Regions from separate parts of the Homo sapiens genome. Here region 2 is linked to region 1. The links are contacts of gene promoters, found by promoter capture Hi-C in blood cells and fetal thymus (Javierre and others, 2016). All regions are on one chromosome and are shown on one strand. Each heading gives the region's core, a stretch centred on a gene start or on the middle of the fragment in contact. The rest is flanking DNA. Distances are from core to core; before and after follow the strand shown. Region 1 holds the start of CFAP65-AS1 (CFAP65 antisense RNA 1). Region 2 overlaps NHEJ1 (non-homologous end joining factor 1).

What was found. Contacts are between HindIII fragments. The CHiCAGO score rates a contact against its expected background, and 5 or more counts as called.
Region 2: a fragment that was not itself captured here is called in contact with the fragment with the promoter of CFAP65-AS1 in region 1 in 9 of 17 cell types (endothelial precursors, M1 macrophages, M2 macrophages and 6 more); the score reaches 9.6 in endothelial precursors.

What each region holds. Positions count from the first base shown.
Region 1 is chr2:218,999,923-219,005,673 of GRCh38, forward strand. CFAP65-AS1 (CFAP65 antisense RNA 1) reads left to right here and starts at 2,293. Exons shown (of 3, transcript NR_046086.1): 1 at 2,293-2,378. CFAP65 (cilia and flagella associated protein 65) reads right to left here. Exons shown (of 35, transcript NM_194302.4): 32 at 5,512-5,640; 33 at 4,030-4,533; 34 at 3,213-3,350; 35 at 2,924-3,099. The coding sequence ends at 3,015. MIR375 (microRNA 375) reads right to left here and starts at 1,786; the gene lies at 1,723-1,786. RefSeq lists enhancers at 1-622, 2,065-2,359. The HindIII fragment of the contact is 13,795 bases long and covers 1-5,751 here.
Region 2 is chr2:219,120,562-219,125,870 of GRCh38, forward strand. All of the region lies in intron 5 of NHEJ1 (non-homologous end joining factor 1), which reads right to left. Among named protein-coding and RNA genes, the nearest start is that of NHEJ1, 38 kb to the right of the region's middle. The HindIII fragment of the contact is 1,259 bases long and covers 2,504-3,762 here.

The DNA of each region.
Region 1 (5,751 bases), core at 1,043-3,542:
ACTCCAACCGCTCAATCCCTTTTCCACTTCCCCCACTACCTGGTCCCTCCCCCACCCAGGGTGCTGACAGGGACGACAGGAAGCAGGCTCCAGCTTTGAGCAGGAGGGGGAGGGGGCCTGCCTCGTACAGCAGCTGCTGAGTGCCCCCCTCCCCATGCAGCCCCGCACCTGCAGGCCTGCCCGGCACTGGGAGACCCCGCCCTGTGGCAGCGGAGCAGCGGAGGAGGGACCTGGATGAGAGGCCAGATCCCTGGTAATGGCCAGCAACTGCAGTCTTAGGATGGATAGTGGGTGGGGGACTGGGGAAATTAGGCCCTGGGGTGAAGGGGCAGTAATTCTCAGTCACCAGGAAAGATCCCCGCCCACTGGGTGGCTGCCTCCTTCTCACCACCCTCCCCTCAAGGCTGTGTGTGTGTGTGTGTGTGTGTGTGTGTGTGTGTTTGGGAGGGGGTCATTCCAAGCAGAGATCTCTTTGTTGTGCAAACCCAGGATGTGGAATCCTGGCCCCTGACATGGTTGGGGAGGGAAGGGGAAGCCCTCAAAGACACAGGGAAGGTGCACCAGGACCATGCCAGGCCCCTGACAGGCAAATCTTTCAGTGCCAGGCAGAGTAAAGGGCTGGCCCAGGACAGAGCCTGGTCAGGGGGGCCAGGAGAGGGCTGCACACACCCTAGCCCAGGACCCAAGGACCTTCCCCTGCCCCTGGGGCTGCTCCACGAAGAGCCCTGCTGTAGTCCACCCTCTCCCTAAACCTGCCTGGGATCTGTCCAACGCCATCTCGCCCCTCCCCCTTCTCTCTCTGTGCCACGGACTCGGGCTCAGCAGATCCTTTGGGGCCTCTGGGTAGTTGGGTGACATAGGGGCACTAGAGCGGGTGGTGGTGGAGGGGACAATCCAGCACCTCTAGGAACATGCAGTTTGGAGGGACTTCTGACCCTGGTTCCCATCTCCCGGGGCTGCCTCTGCCTGAGCTGAGGGCCACCTACCTACCCCACCCCAGCTGATGGAAGCGAGGATGTGGGATTCTGAGGTTTGAGGAAGGTGGTGAACCGCTGTGCCTGGGGGCTTGTCCTTTTCAGTCAGTCTGACTGTCTCAGACGTTTTTAGACTGAAAGAGGGACCAAGGGAGTGTCAGGGAGTGACATCTCAGGATGTCAGCAGCACCACAGAGATCCGAGGAGTGGATTTGAGGCTCCATGGTGGCCCTCAGCTTCCCCCGCCCAGATTTTCCACACCTCAGCCTTGGCTCCAACTCCGTGAGGGCCTGCATCTTCCCCAGCATGACCAGGAGCCCAGGAACCGGGACAGGAGGCTGGGGAGGGCCTAGCCCCTGCGGGAGGCCAGACCAACCGTTCACTGAGCAAATGGGAAAACCAAGAGGCCGGGAAATGACTTGCCCAAGGCCATAGAAGTCGCGGGGACAGAGGCGGACTAGAATCCGGGTTTCCACCTCCAGAAGGGTTTCTGTTCTGGGCCACGGCCCCCTTCGCCACCCGCTGGAGCCGGCTCAGCCCGTATTACGACGCAGAATGGAGCCTGGCAGCCCAGAAGCTGCGGGCAGGGCAAGGCAGGGCGGGTGGGGCCGGATGGGAGCCGGATCTCCCCTGGAGCGGCGCACAGCCTCTCCCACCCGTACGGTTGAGATGGCGGTGGCGGTGGCGGCGGCAGGTGCCTGCGTGGCGATCAGGCCGGCCCCCGGGCTGGTGCTGAGAGGCCGCCCCTGCCTCACGCGAGCCGAACGAACAAAACGCTCAGGTCCGGTTTGTGCGAGGGGCTCGTCGCGGGGCGGGAGCGGAGGGCCCGGGGCCTGGCGGTCGCCCTCGGTGATCTCCTGGTCCTGGTCTTCCGCGAGCTCAGTGCTGCACAGCGCCCCGCTAGCCTCCGCCCTCACCTGAACGCATCTGCGGCTGACACGTCGGCGGCCGCGGCGGCCACCGCAGGTGCGCACCTGGCCCGCCCCTCCTTTCCCAGCCACCCTCCGCCCGGCTTTCCTGGCCCCTCCGCCCGGCCCAGCCTAGCTTGGCTTCGTCCCCAGCCCACGCCTTGGAGCTTGTCCCGGAGCCCGGGCTCCGTGTGCTCTTATACTGCCTGTTCAGTCCCCGCCCCCAGACACACACACTCACACCTGTCCAGGCGCCCGTTTGCTCGGGGCAAATATTGACTCATGGAGGCGGAGCGCTCCCCCCTCCCCCGCCCGGGCTCTGAGACCGGAGCTTCTCCGAGGCCTTGGTGGCGGGGGCGGAGGGGAGGGTGCTGGGGACCCTGGGCGCCTCTGGAACAACACCAGATGTCACTTTTCCACCCACCTGCCTCTGGGAGGGAGGAGCCGAGAAGCAGAGGACAGAAGCTCCCGGGCGGGGGTTAGGAGGAACCGAGAGGTGGGTATCCATCCTCGTCTGAGGACTGATTCACAGTGGGAGTCGCTTAGCAGGGTCTGTGGCCCGAAATCCAGTGGTGACCTCGACCCGCCCCAGCCTAGTTCCTGGCCCTCCGCGGCGTGCCTCAGTTCTTCCTCCCCAGCCTCTTGGGCACTCGGAGCTCGGCAAATGCTAAGGGGCTGGCCCTGGGGGTGCTAAGCCTCCGAGCAGGCGCGGCGCGGAAAGGTGAGGGGTGGCCGCCCTGCCCAGTGGACACCTGCTTCGCTGGCCAGGCCTGGCACTCAGTTACTGTGCACCAAGGTGCGCTGGGGCAAAGGCCAGCCAGGCCCCGTCCGGAGCGCCCTCCACTGGCCAGACCCGGTCCAGCGGCCGGCAGCTAGCGGCCAGGTCTCAGTCCAGCTGCAGTGTGGGCGGAGAGGTGCATCCTCCCGGGCCCTAAGTTCCCGCCGCGCCTCTGCAGTCCGCCCGGGCTGCTCCCTGCCATCCTTCCCTCTCAGAGCTCGCGCGCGCGTTCCCCCTCGTCGGGGAAATAAAGTCAAGGTAGATACAGAAAAAAGACTAGATGCTTTTACTGGCGGTGGAGAGGGGGCCAGGCGTGACCCCTAGCGGCATGTCGGAGAGGCTGGGCGCGGGCATTTACGGAAGGTCGGTAGGAAGTGGCACCACCGGGTGGAGTACCTCTGCTTGCTGCGTCGGCAGCAGCGTGTCCGGGGTCAGACTCCTGGAAGACAAAAAGTCCCAGGTAGGCGTGGGGGCGAGGCTTCGGGCAGAGCCTGGCTGCCCCCGTGGCCCCTCTCGCGCGGTCTGCGCGGCCGCTGGTCCCGGCGCCCTTACCTGGGCACGCAGAACGGCGGCAGGGCGATGACGCGTGGCCGCGAGGTGAGTACCACCTCCCCGCGGCTCGCCTCCACCAGGATGTTCTGGATCATGTTCTCCAGCAGCGCCTCCTGCAGGTTGGCGAAGGCCGGGAGCCTGCGAGGGGGCGGGGGCTAGCATGAGGGCGGCCGCAGTGCCCGCGCGCCTCCTCGCTCGCCTGTCCGTGCGGTACATTGTGCCGCGAGCTCTACGGAGATTCCCATTCGACTCCCCTCATCCACTACACTATGGGGCATTCTTGTTTCAATGTTACGGACGTTCCAAGTGTGGCTAAAAGATTCCAAGTTGCCAAATATGCTGCTGGTTTAAGGGGTGGGATTCAAACCCAGGCGATGTAGTAGGCATCTCAGGGCCAAGTTTAGAGAAAGGTAGGGAAGTGATGAGAGGGCGCAGAAGGGACTGGGTGGGGCCTAGGGAATCCCTACAATGACATAAATCATCTGTAGGGCAGCCCCGGCGGGAAGTCCCACCTGCAAGACAGGTGGTCCTTTTCTGGCTCTAGAAGCCCATTTACAAGACTTTGCAGACTATAACAATTCTCCTGGTAAGTTGGTAAATGTCAACAACTAGTTCTTAGAGAAAAAAGAATAAAGTTCAGTGTTGGTGCCGGGCGGATACTCCCACAGAGGCCTTAAGCTACCAACATGACCTCACTAAGCACTGAATTAGGATGAGATGTGCATACAGGCAGCAGCCATCCTTGGCATCCCACTGCCTCCTAGGAACCTTCTGCACTTCGCCTCCCTCCCGTCCTCACTGGGGCCTGGCTGCTCACCTTCTGATGGCCTCCTTCTCGTCCTGTTCTTGCTCCTCCTTCACCATGACATTCAGCTGCTGTTGCCACTGCCATTGCATGGACTCCTGGGACTCAGGCTGTGGTGTGGGCCCGATGCCCGCCCAGCTCACTTTCTCTTCCTTCTCATCCCTCTCCTCCTCCTTCTCCTCTATCTCCTCCTTGCCCAACTCCTCCTCTTCTGTCTCCTCTTCTTCCTCCTCTTCCTCCTCCAACTCTTCTTCTTCCTCTTCACCCTTCTCCTCCTCCCCCTCTTCCTTCTTTCCCAACCCTGGATAGTGCTCTGGTCTGTCTTCCTTCGGCTGCTTGCCCTTCCCATCCTCCCAGCTGCTGGAGGGTACAGGCAGGATTGGCATTAAGTACAGGCTGTTTTTCTGGTCCATGAACTTAGTTGACTGCTCATTCCAGAATTGGCGGAAGTACGGCACCTGCTCCACCAGGCTTTGGTCCACAGCCTCATGGAAGTTCTTGTCTTCCAGCAGGCCCCTAGGTGGCAGGGAGAAGGAGAAGGCCCTTGCTGAGGGGCCCTGAAGCCCCTGGGGAGCCCTGGCTTCAGAGCTAGGTTCTAGGTGGGAAAGGGGCTGCTAGGTGGGGAGAGGGGAGCCCTTGGTCAGTTGTTCCTCCTGTCCCTTCTTTCAAGGAAGACATCTTTGAGCCTCATGGATTTTTAGAAGCGAACATGGTATGCTGGAGGCAGGGCAGGTCAGATTCACACACATGATGGGCAGGAACCCTGGGGAGATAGTGGACTGGCTCCAGACTCATCTGCCAGCCCTGGAATGGGGCAGAACTCAGGATCCAGACCTGAGAATCCCTCCAGCCAGCTCCATCAGAGCCCCACTGTCCTGGGGTGGGGGGGCCGGGGGGGGGGACCGTGGTGGGATCTTGCAAAGAAGTTCTGTTTCTTTTTTTCTTTTCTCTCTCTCTCTATTTCTCTCTTTCTTTCTCTCTCTTTCTCTCCTCTTTTTTCTTTCTTTCTTTCTTTCTTTCTCTCTCTTTCTTTCTTTCTCTCTTTCTGTCTTTGTCTCTTTCTTTCTTTCTCTTTTCTTTTCTTTTTTTGAAAAAAAGCTCTGTCTCCCAGGCTGGAGTACAGTGGTGTGATCATGGCTCACAGCAGCCTCAACCTCTCAGTTAATTAAGCTAATTAATGGTCTCAAGCAATCCTCGCACCTCAGCCTCCAAAGTAACTGGGACTGCAGGCATGCACCACCATGTCCAGCTAATTTTTGTATTTTTTGTAGAGATGGGGTCTTGCTATGTTGCCCACGCTGGTCTCAAACTCCTGGGCTCAAGCCACCCGCCCACTGCTGCCTCCCAAAGTGTTGGAATTACAGGCAAGAACCTCCATGCCCCACCAAGTTCTATTTCTCAAGAAAGGAAGAGTGCTGGAATGTAAGGGGCTCTGGCTGAATGAGCTGGAGGGATGCGAAGGTGGCAATGAGGGCCCAGGGTGTGAGCTGGTACCTGATTATTGTGGTGAGAATGTCAACCAGGAGCTGCTTCTTCTGCTTGGAAACAGGGCCCCACTTGTTAGGGGATTTTTCCTCAGAAGTCTCTGACTCTTCCCTGGGGGCCTTCCTCTTTGGCAGCTCCCTGTGGCAGCCATGACATTCTGAGTGGCCTGGGCAAGCCACCATGCTGGGGTTGGGGGCACAAGCAGTGGTGGTAGCTGCCCAGTGATGAGGACACAGATGAGTTTGAGGC
Region 2 (5,309 bases), core at 1,883-4,382, 120 kb after region 1:
CTGCATGCCAGTGTCCAAGGTCAGCTTCCTCAGACCTCAAGATTTACAGGTCTTTGTAGAAAGAATGAAGAAGAGGCGATATTTATTCAATACCTAGGATTGCTAGCTTAAATTATATGCAAGTATTTCCCCCAAATGTCAACTTGGGAAATATGTGGGGCTCCATCAAGTATACTGCCATTTGTAGAAGAGAGAAAAGTCTCTGATCGGCCCTAGTATGAGCCAATAAATCTAGGGAAATAGAGAGCCACCAAATCTTAGGGCTAGCCATGTCCTCTCCTAACCTCGTCCTCTAATTGTTCCAAGCAGGACTCTACTATACTGATCATTATGTAAAGAATCTTAAAGAAACAGCTCAGGTACAGTGGCTCATGCCTGTAATCCCAGCACTCTGGGAGGCTGAGGTGGGTGGATCACTTGAGGTCAGGAGTTCAAGACCAGCCTGACCAACATGGTGAAACCCCATGTCTACTAAAAATACAAAATTAGCCAGGCATGGTGGTGCATGCCGGTGCATGCCTATAATCCCAGCTACGTGGGAGGCTAAGGCACCAGAATCACTTGAACCCGGGAGGCTGAGGTTGCAGTGAGCCAAGAATGCGCCATTGCACTCCAGCCTGGGCAACAAGAGCAAAACTCTGTCTAAAAAAAAAAAAAAGAAATCTAGGAAAGGAGTTCCCAAAGCTTCCCTAGTAACATAATCTAGTCAGGTAAAAATTCTCTCTACTTCAACTACATCCTTATAATTCAAGTTTATCCCTTCTTGTACTATCTTGAGCAAAATGCAGGAAAGCTATTTACTATCCTATATGTGTTAATTTTCCATATTTAAAAGAATGAACTACCATTCAATCTACTCTCTGAATTAAATAATTCCATTGTCCTTGGATTTTTCTTATTTATCCTATGTCCACCTCTTTTATTATTGTTCTGATTTTTTCTATGGGCATTAAGGCCCCCGTGCATCTTTCACACGTGACATCAAAACCTCAAGAGCAGCTGGACACAGTGGCTCATACCTATAATCCTGGCACTTCGGAAGGCTGAGGCAGGTGGATCACTTAAGTCCAGGAGTTTGAGACCAGCCTGGGCAACATGGTGAAACCCCATCTCTACTAAAAATACAAAAAATCAGCTGGACATGCTCCTAGCTACTTGAGAGGTTGAGGTGGAAGGATCAGTTGAGCCTGGGAGGTCGAGGCTGCAGTGAGCCCTGATTGCACCACCACACTCCAGCCTGGGCAATAGACCCTATCTTAAAAAAAAAAAAAATTAAATTAATGAAAATTGTTTAAAAACCTGAAGAGCTCAACTAATGCTAAATACAATAGTAGGGTGGCTTGGGGTTTTCATGCTATTCTTTTAATTATAGTCTGGAATTATATTCATCTTTTTAAATACCCAAAATATACCAAGAACTATATCGCAACTGGGAGCTCTTACTAGTTAAATCTTTCAAGAAAAAAGGTGGGGCAATATCTCCCACCTAAGGAGTAGAAGACCACTTTATAAGCAAGAAGTTCTATTCAACAAGAGACTAGACCACAGGGGAACCATCTGACAGCAGGAGCAGCAGCCACGGCTGGTAAGTAGGGAGCCCAGGAGGGTATTTACAGCCTTGTGGAGGGTTATTCAAGAAGTCACAAAAATTTTACTTTACTTTCCTTAGATCCACGCACCTTTCAAGAGCTCCCTGGGGATCTTTCACTAATTTCCCCACCAGGGAATGACTTCCTCATCTGTCCTCACTGAGCACTTCATGTTTGTCTTTATTACAGCACTCTTACTTTGGTAAGATAAGTGTGTGTACACCTATCTATCTCATTTTCTGAGCCATATGCTTCTTGGGGGCAGGAATCATGTTAGTTATCTCTGTACCCTTGGCACAGTAAGTACTTAAATATGTTAGTTTCCTATCCCCCATAGTACTGGTACAAGAACCTAAACCCAGTGGTATTCAATAAATGCTGGATAAGGATGATAACATTAATAACAGCCATTCAGCACAACTCCACTAAGTTGTCAGACCAGTTTAGGATATTGGCATGAAAAATGCTTTTTCTCCTGGCCCAGACATTTACTCTTAAGATTTGCCTCCTCCTCAATAGACTCCAGGAAATAGGGTTAGTTTTAAGTTCTAGAAACTCTAATCATTCCTGTTTTCTCCAAACTAAGGGCCTGAAGGAAGACTGCAGATACCTCATGAATATTGATGAGCCTCTGCGGTCACATGAATATTAACAACACCCTGTGGCTTTCGGGAACAGCAGCCCAGCTAGAAGGTCTAATATTAACCTTGGCTAGGCCCAAAAAGTAGAAAGCGCATATGCCCATACATCCCCATGGGGAGTAAAGAGTGGATAGCGGAGGCCAGTTTGGAGCTTGGCCCCTATGCAAACACTGGGCACACAGGCAGTTAAGAAAGAACTAAACATTGTGTCCTACGTCCCTGGCACTGGGGGGCTCTGTTAGTAGCTACCCAGGCAGGAATCCCCAATTCTCAAGCTTTGGAGAAGTTAGGATGTAGAGGCTAAATCATACTCAATTCAGAAAAACACTGGTAGGGATACACTGACCTAGTTCAATAGCTACAGTAGAGGGGTAGGAAAGGTTGACAGTCAGATCACATAGGACAAAAACCAGAATCAAATTACAAGGCTCAATTAGGCAACAAAGACATATTTTGTAGATCACACATTAACAGTAAGTAAAGTTCTATAGACTGGAGTTTCCAGCCCCATACCCTCCCATGAGACTAGTGGACACAGAAAACAATGACTGAGACTTAAGCGGAAAGCTATTCTACGACTGATGCAGTGAGAGACAGAAGGAGTCAGAATCTTTTTCCACCTACAGATCCTCAACCCAGGAAACATCAGAAAGAATGATGATCATTATTAAAAACAAACAAAAACAACAAAACAAAAAGTACTGTGAATCAAAGTTAACCAAAGAAACCCATGTACGCCTAGCCCTGGGTCTAAGTTCAAAATCTACTTCTATGTCACATGACAGAACTATTAAAAGGAAAGGCAGGTTAAGTAACCCCATGCAGTGGCTGGAATTAATGCTAATAAGATTCCTGCTGTACTCATCCACCAAGACAGACTACATTTAAAACTAGAAAAGTGCGTCTTTACTCCTCTAGCCTGATCCTACTCAAAGGCCTTCACCCCTTAGCTCTGCCTGAAAAGCTGATCCGACCCCCTTTACCCACACTCAAGAGGAACAGAGAGGCCTGTAGGCCTAGCCCAAGCTGAGGTGGTGAGAGGCCACACCTAGGAAGAGGGTGGGGGCTACTCTCAGGCGCTGTGTTCTGTCACACAATTACCATATTATGTAGCTCTAATAAAAAGAAATACTTGAAGTTTTATTAGTGCCATATAATAAAGTATTTATAGAATCCTGGCGGTGGGGGCAGAGGTAGAGAGAGGGAGAAGGAAATAGGAGGAATCGAAATTGTTAGCAATAACCCTAGCAATGGCAGCCCCCAGCATTCGCCACCCTGGGTAAACCTCAAAGACTTCAGCCTGGGACATCAGGCCAGCTGTCATCAACCTAGATCAGCATGGCTTACTGTTCACTCCCTCTACAACAGTCCGTCTCTGACTTCTTCCTGGTTAACAAAGAAAGAGGTGAGGAACTGGGAGGAGTAGGGAAGAGGAATAAAGAATTGATATCAGCAAAACTGTGGAGCCTAGGCCTGAAAAGGCTGGGAAGCAGAGGAAAGCGGGCATCAGTTGAAAGAATGAGTGGAATGTAAGCTTTAAAAGGTTCCATTCTGGAGCTAAATTTGAGTTCTCACCATCCAGCATATCTGACCGTTTTGAAATTTGCCCAAACAGGGTTTTCCATTACTGCACTGGCCCCTTCTGCACACCTCTCATACACCCACTCCAACCACACTCTCTACTCACCACCACCACCACGAGAGGAGTGCACCCCACACCTACTCCAACCACATGACACACACCCACACCTTCTCCCACACCGCCCCTCCTCACACATGGTCCTCACAGCCACAGTGCACACACATACAACACACTCACCACAGCACACTCCTTCTTAAGGCTACCAGCTGCCTGCATTTCCTGGGCATCTTCCCAACTTAAGACACATCCTAGATAAAAACATTTTCGGAGTCTACAACACTCTTTAACATTTTAAAATTTTCTATTACCCAGAAAATCTCCCCAAAGAGAGAGAGAAGTGAGGGCTGTGACATTATTACAGAGAAGACTATAAACAGAACAAATATAGTGCTGCTTTATTACAAGGCAGTGTGGGGTTGGTGGCTGGCTGATTACAGGGCCACTCCCCAGAGCTCTCTGCAGTCCCAGACCTCAATAAAGGCCAGACTTGAGCTGCCTTCAACTGAGGGGCCCCCTTCAGATTCCAGTCCAGGATGTGCTATCTGCCTTGGTTGAAGATAAGGAGGAAAGCAAACACAATCTAAGAACAACCATGCTTGGCAAAGAGCCACTTGACCATCTTCTCAAAGGCAAACACAATTAAGATGGTTTGGGTTTCTTGGAATCAATAGATTCCAAACTTTGGAAATTAAAAAAAAAAAAACCTAGAGAGATCAAGAACTGATAGACTTAAAAACCCATACACATCATAGATAGTGCAGAGTAAGGGGGAGGAATGGATTAGAGGACAGAAAGAGAAGCAACGCAGCTTGAGTGACTAAAGCAACCCATATTACGCATAAAATCATAGAAGGAAAGAGTGGGAAATCCACAAGTCCTCTCTTCTGGGCTCTGGGCACACAGCGTCCCTTCTTGGGTGACTCACACTGGGATCACCTTCACCCCTGCTTCATGTGGTAAGGGCCTCTTTATAAGGAGACACACCACGAGCCTTCTCCTCCTCCACCCCTGCGAGCCAGGGCAATTGCGTCACTGACCTCCACACACACTCACTCCCTCCTCTTTCCAGCCGGCCACCACACAAGGGATCTTGTCTTGTGGTCCCTGCGATCCTTTCATCTGGGCTCCAAACCCACTGTCACCTTGGCCCTGAATCACTCCCCAGGAGACACTGGGAAAACAGAGCTGGACAAAGAGTGTCTGGGTCCTGTATGGCTAGAATTTACTGATCCCTGCCGGTGAGAGAACCCAGGCTATGCTCTTCTCTGCCCAAAGGCAGGGCACAGGAGTAATTTTTAACTTGGCCTTGTGGCCAGCCCTGCCTACAGACTAGGTGTCCACTGATTTGGGTGATACCCAGCCCCCAACAGCTAAAGGATAAAAAGGGCTGAGAGGCAGTCCTAAAGGTTCTAGCTCCTCTGCCTTACTTGTTCCGTG